2 separate regions of the Homo sapiens genome follow, and region 1 is linked to region 2. The links are contacts of gene promoters, found by promoter capture Hi-C in blood cells and fetal thymus (Javierre and others, 2016). All regions are on one chromosome and are shown on one strand. Each heading gives the region's core, a stretch centred on a gene start or on the middle of the fragment in contact. The rest is flanking DNA. Distances are from core to core; before and after follow the strand shown. Region 1 has its middle 6.8 kb from the start of CD1C. Region 2 holds the start of CD1A (CD1a molecule).

Region 1 (3,094 bases), core at 506-3,005, 42 kb before region 2:
GTTTTATGAACCTGTGTGCTCCTGTGTTGGGTGCATATATATTGAGGATAGCTAAGTCTTCTTATTAAATTCAACCCTCTATCATTAAATAATGTTTTTCTATGTCCTTTTTGACAGTTGTTGGTTTAAAGTTTATTTTGTCTGAAATAAAAATAGCAACCCCTGCTCTTTTTTCTTTCCTGTATGCTTGACAGATTTTTTGCCATCCTTTAGTTTTGGCCTATGGGTGTCCTTGCATGTGAGATGGGTCTCTTGAAGATAACTTACAGGTGGGTCTTGTTTATTTTTTTTTTTTTTGTCTTTTTTAACGTGAGACAGGGTCTCACTCTGTTACTTAGGCCGAAGTGCAGTGGCATGATCACAACTTACTGCAGCCTCCACCTCCCCAGGCTTGGGTGATCCTCCTACCTCAGCCTCCTCAGTAGCTGGGACTACAGGCATGTGCCACCATTCTTAGCTAATTTTCTTGGTTTTTTTGTAGAAATGGGGTTTTTCCATGTTGCCTAGGTTGGTCTCAAACTCATAGGATCAAGCAATCGGCCTGCCTTAGCCTCAAAGTGTTAGGATTACAGGCATGAGCCAGGGTCTTGTTTCTTTATTCAACTTGCCACTCTGTGTCTTGGGGTGTTTAGCTCATTTACCTTCAAGGTAAATATTGATAAGTGAGAAGTTGATTTTGTCATTATTGTTAGCTGGTTGTTATGTAGACTTAATTGTGTAGTTCCTTTATAGTGTCACTGGTCTGTTTACTTAAGTGCATTTATGTGGTGGCTGGTAAGAGTCTTTTATTTCCATGTTTAGCACTCCCTTAATGACTTCTTATAAGGCAGGTCTGGTGGTAATAAATTTCCTTAGCATTTGCTTTGCTGAATTTCTCTTTAACATATAAATCTTACTTGGGCTGGATATGAAATTTTGGGTCAGAATTTCTTTTCTTTAACAATGCTGAATATAGGCCCTCAATGTCTTCTGGCTTCTAAGGTTTCTGCTGAAAGGTATGCTGTTAGCTTGATTGGGGTCCCTTTGTAGGTGACCTGCTCCTCCTCTCTGGTTGCCTTTAGTATTTTTTTCTTTCACATTGACCTTGGATAATCTTATTATTGTGTATCTTGAGGATGGTTTTCTAGTGTAGTATCTCTCAGGAGTTCTCTGAATTTCTTGAATTTGAATGTTGACCTCTATAGTGAAGTTGAGAAAATTGTCATGGACAATATCCTCATATATGTTTTCAATTGTTTGCACACTCTCTCTCTCTCTCTTTCAGGGACATCAGTGAGTACAGGTTTGGTCTCTTTACATAACCTCATATTTCTCAGAGATTTTGTTCATCCTTCTGTATTATTTTTTCTTTATTTTGTGTGACTGAGTTAATTAGAAGAACTGGTCTTTGAGCTCTGAGATTCTTCCCTCAGTGTGGTCTATTCTGCCTTTAATACTTCCAATTGTATTATAAAATTCTTTAGTGAATTTTTTAGCTCTGTCAAATCAGCTTAGTTCTTTCTTAAAATGGCTATTTTGTCTTTCAGTTATTGTATTATTTTACTGGATTCCTTAAATTCTTTGGATTCCATTTCAACTTTCTCCTGAATCTCATGATTTTCATTGCCATCCAGATTCTAAAATCTATGTCTATTATCTCAGCCATTTTAGTCTGGTTAGGAAAGATTGTTGGGGAGCTAGTGTGTTCATTTGGAAGTAAGAAGACACTCTGACTTTTAGAGCTGCCTGAGTTCTTCCACGGGTTCTTTCTCATCTATGTGGGCTGATGTTCCTTAAACGTTTAAAGTTGCTGTCCTTTTGATGGGGCCTTTTGCTTTTATATTCTTTGATGCCCTTGAGGCTTTGACTATGGTATAGGTTTGGGTCAGTGAGCTAGCTTTATTTCTTGATGATTTCAGGGGGCCATGGCTCAGCTCAGCACTCCTGGGCTATATGCTCTAAGACTGAGGGCCTGGGACCAGGCCCAGAACCTTGTTCTTTGGCCCCTTGAGACTGAGCACCTGCTTCACTGGAGGGGGCCAAGGTGCTCCCAGTCCACTAGCAACAACACTCCTATGGTGGGCAGGGTGGGGGGGTCCCAGAAAAGCATTTCATAAGGGCAGTGGCGGTGGGGGTCTGCTCTCACATGCATGTACTGGCAGCAGTGGGGCAGTGGCATGGTGGGGTCCACACTCACTCACATGCTGGTGGTGGTGGGGCAGCAGGGTAGAAGGTCCATGCACATGTACACCAGGGATGGTAGTGTGGCAGGGTACATGCACGCATGTAGGCTAGTGGGGACAGTGCAGCAGTGGTGAGGTCTCCATGCATATGTGCACAGAAGTGGTAGCAAGGCAGTGATGTCTGTGTATGTATGCCAGCAAAGCAGTTGTGGGTGCTGAAGGCAGGTGCATGCTGATGTGAGGCCAGTGACAGAAGCTATTTGGTGGTTTGGTGGGGTCAGCCAGTGAAAGACCTATGGCAGTGGTCTCTGAGAACTGCCTCAGTTGAACATCTGAGGCTGTGCTGCAAGCAGGTACAGACAGGCAGGGATCCTGGGAGAGGCCAGCAGACATGGGGTGGGGGGCTCAGATCAGTCTAGCCCCATCCAAATATCATGGTAGCCCTATTCTGTCCAGGTCTGATAGTCAACAAAGGGGTCAAAGCCACCTAGAGGAGCATGCCAATCCTCGGGTAATGGACATCCCTAACCATGCTCCACTGTAGCTGTTCTCACACCAAACCCTCTGGGTTCCATAGAAGCTGGAGTCCTGTCCCTGCCAACTCTGCAAGTAGCTTTCCCTGCCAACTCAAATGTCTGTGTGGGTCGTGGGGGTCTCCTGCAGCTAGGATTCCAGAGGTTCATGGATAGAGTGGGCCACTTCATGCCTATTTAACCAACCCCTTCCCTAGAAGCCACTGAGGACCAAGAATAAGTCCTAGTGTTTGGCAACCCTGTGTAGGGTTCGCAGCTTCTTCCCCCCTTCAGCCCAGGGTCTGCATTCTCCCTCCATCCACTCTCAATGCCTTCTTTCCAATGATCTTCTCAGAGTATACTGCTCTTCTTGATGGTCTTGTCTCTTGGTGGGAGAAGCTCTTCCTGGCTGCATCTAGT
Region 2 (3,446 bases), core at 788-3,287:
CTGCCCTTAAGAAGTCCTCCAGCCTCAGCTTCCCAAAGTACTGGGATTACAGATGTGAGGCACTGCACCCAGCCTTTCCCACTTCTGGGTGGCTCTTCCTTATTCTAAATTGGAAGGAGGTGGTGGAAGGGTATGATTTTCAAATCAAAACTTCTTGGAGGGAGAGTGCAGGACTGACCTTGCCGCTGGAGATGTGCCTTTCCTGCATCAAGAAGACCCAAGATGAAACGTGGGCAGGTGTCACTGAGAAGATTGTGTGTTATGTCATTTTCATGCTGATTCTGATTGAGCACTTTGCAGAAATGCTTGGCCATATTCCCAGCCACTGGATATGGCAACCATGAATTGTTCTGGAAGCTCACAAAGTCTGATCCTTGATAAGCTAACTGCAAGAAGCTTCCTGAGACCTTTCCAGAGTGCAGCTCACAGCCTCCTGTCACCTGTATCTCAAAAGGATCTGGGGTTATGAAATAGAGGAAAGAGGGAGAAAAAAATATAAAATGAAATGAGTAGAAGCAAAGATTATAGAAGCAGAAGGGGGAAGTGTGCAGGGTTTGACATAATGGAATAAAATTTGGTTTGGTCAGGGATTCAGAGAAAGAGGAATTGGTGGGAGCTGTAGGTGGAGGAAAAGATTAATAACATGAGGAAGAGGGCAAACTGGTCAAAGAAGGTGATGTGAATGCTGTGGGTGAGCAAGGACCTGGTGTAAGAGAACTGGGATTATAACAACTTAGGTTGAATTAAATGCAATGGGTTACAATTGAGTATATATAGAGAGACTGCTGAAGAGAATGAATGAGAAAGTGAGAAAGCTGAAGGTATCTGGTTGTAGGGCAGGCAGAAGGGTGGTCCTGGGATACCTGTAAGAAAAGATAATAATGCACAACCCTGCAATCAATGAGAGAGGAGTTCATAAGTAGCAGAAGTGTTTGGAGAATTAAGGTCTGGATGATAGCCCTTGCCCAAAAGTATGCAATTGCAGTTTTATGGTGGAAAGAATAGAATAAGATACAGAAGAGAGTCAGGCTGTTTCCTAAAGGAATAAGAAACATTGAGACAACCCCTCTCTCCCACCTCACCACTCTCCATGGAGAAAACTGAACTCACATTCAAACTGCAATTCATGGGCGTATCTACGAATTCCCTCAAATGACCGAATGGTGCGTATACGGAATAATGTTTCCAGTTCCTTCCACTCCTCATTGCTGAAGTTTCCCCTGGACCAGGGGCACAGGAAAACGATGGTGCTGGAATTGCTGTCCCAGGTATGAGTCTGCAAATCACTCAGCCAACCTGAGACCAGATTTTGTTTCCAGGAATGGTTGTAAAAGGATGCGATCCAGGTGACATGGAAGGAGAGAGGCTCCTTGAGCCCTGCGACAAAAGAACAGATAGAATGGGGAGAAAGACATTGAGAAAGAGGATGGAGAGAGAAAGGTGCCAGAGTGCGGGAACTCAGAATCTGGAGAAAAGGGGATCCATCATGATCTTAGCAGACATTCACTTGCCACACAGTCCCATGCCTTATCAACCACCTTCATAAGAGCTCAGGGACCTGGAGTCATGGATAGTCAGAATGGAACCAGCCTGGCACTCTCACTTTCCAGGTATATGCTAGGGAAACCACACACACACACACACACACACACACACACACACACACACACACACAGAGAGAGAGAGAGAGACCTTCACCCACCACCCAACTGGGCAGTTGTCAGAGTTCTTACCGTCTGCATTGCCATCACCTGGGAGAACAGCTAACAATGGAAGTAGCAAAAACAGCATATCATTTGCAGATGTTATTTCCTTCTCTCAGAAAAATTGGTCTTTGATTTCTGTTCCAAACAAACCTACCCCACGATATCTCTATTCTGACTTCTTTCTGCAGCCAACAGACAAACCTCCCCTGACTGCAACAAAGAAAATCCACTCCTTCAAAAACCCTGAGATGCCTACTCAGTCTCTCATTTCCCTCTGGTTCTGACTCTCCTCTCTGTTCCAGCTTCTCTCCTTGTCACCAACCTCCAACTTATTCACCTTCCCCTAATTCAACTGCTATGGAACAAGTCTGATGTGGCATTGAAAAGCCACTTAACCACTAAGGACATTTTTTTCTCAATCATACAATAAGAGCATAAAGTGAAATGGCTCCCAGTGTGCTGCCCAATGCTCCCATGTCCCTGCTCTTTTTGATCACTCTGTCCTTTTCAATATTTTCCCATGTATTCTCTTCCCCTGTCTCTTCAGCCCCTTACTACATTCACATTTCTGATTTAACATTGATTTATTTGCTTTTTCAGAGTCTCCTACGACTGCCCTGTGCGACAGTACAAACTAACACCTTTTCTCCATTATTCTTAGAGAAGAGCCAGTAACCATCACAAAAAAAAAAAAAAAAAAAAAAAAAAAAAAAAAAAAAAAAACCACAGGAACACTAAAACATATAAAGAAAATTTCCTCTGTTTGATTTTCATTGATATACATTCACTCACCCAACAGTCTCTCTTAGCACCTGCCTGGAGTCAAGCATCTTGGTACACTTAAGAATATGCAGTGGTTGACAACACAATCACTTTACTGAAGGAGCTTTTTCTCTACTTAGGGAGAAAAACACGCCATGAAATATAAATCTTGGTGTACTGAGTTTTATTATACTGTATACACTCTCTGGATAAAAACAAGGCCTGCTTGAAATAATATTTTCTAAAATGGGGGCTCCTAACTAATGTACGCCAGCCCAGAATTTTGACTTCAATGTTTGACTTGGAGTGTTAGTTCCATACAGTTATCATACTGTATCCCCACCTAACAGAGTATCTCACAAGTGGTAGGTGCTTAGTGAATATTTGTCAAATGAATGAATGAATTCAGTCTATGCATCCATTTTTTAATTATGGAGGTGATATTCAACATGAAACTTTTTAAAGATATCATAAAAGTTACTTGTAACCCTATGTAGTGAGATGAGAATCTCATACAGTTTTATTTAGGATAAAAGTACAAGTTACTGGCATGAGATTTACATAAAAGATCCTGCTATAAATGTCCTATTACTTATAAGAAACTAGTCAGAACTTGTGAGCAGTGAAGTTAATGGAGTATTCCAAAGTCTTTATCCCAGGATCCCTTTTTATTAGTCCTATTTGGATGTTTCAGGGTTGTTTTGTTATAAATGAGTCTTTGCCGGACACATTTACATTCCTCTTTTACGCTGCTTGTAACTGTTGAAGGGCTTCTAAATATATGTTTGTGCTTTGTAGATATCATCCATATAAATGTGTCTGGGCTATTTACTATTTTTTGGTTTTCAAAAAAAAAGTATCTGAAGCTAATTTAGGGGGAAAAAATTTTTTTTCTTGAGACAGGGTTTCACTCTGTTACTCAGGCTGGAGTGCAGTGGAATAATCATAGCTCACTGTAACCTCCAACTCCCGGCCTCA

The links. Contacts are between HindIII fragments. The CHiCAGO score rates a contact against its expected background, and 5 or more counts as called.
Region 1: a contact is called between a fragment that was not itself captured here and the fragment with the promoter of CD1A in region 2, in 1 of 17 cell types (fetal thymus). The highest score is 6.6, in fetal thymus.

What each region holds. Positions count from the first base shown.
Region 1 is chr1:158,295,153-158,298,246 of GRCh38, reverse strand. It overlaps a transcript of CD1B not described here. Among named protein-coding and RNA genes, the nearest start is that of CD1C, 6.8 kb to the right of the region's middle. The HindIII fragment of the contact is 3,555 bases long and covers 1-3,094 here.
Region 2 is chr1:158,253,015-158,256,460 of GRCh38, reverse strand. CD1A (CD1a molecule) reads right to left here and starts at 2,037. Exons shown (of 6, transcript NM_001763.3): 1 at 1,734-2,037; 2 at 1,111-1,377; 3 at 179-457. The coding sequence starts at 1,791. The HindIII fragment of the contact is 5,152 bases long and covers 399-3,446 here.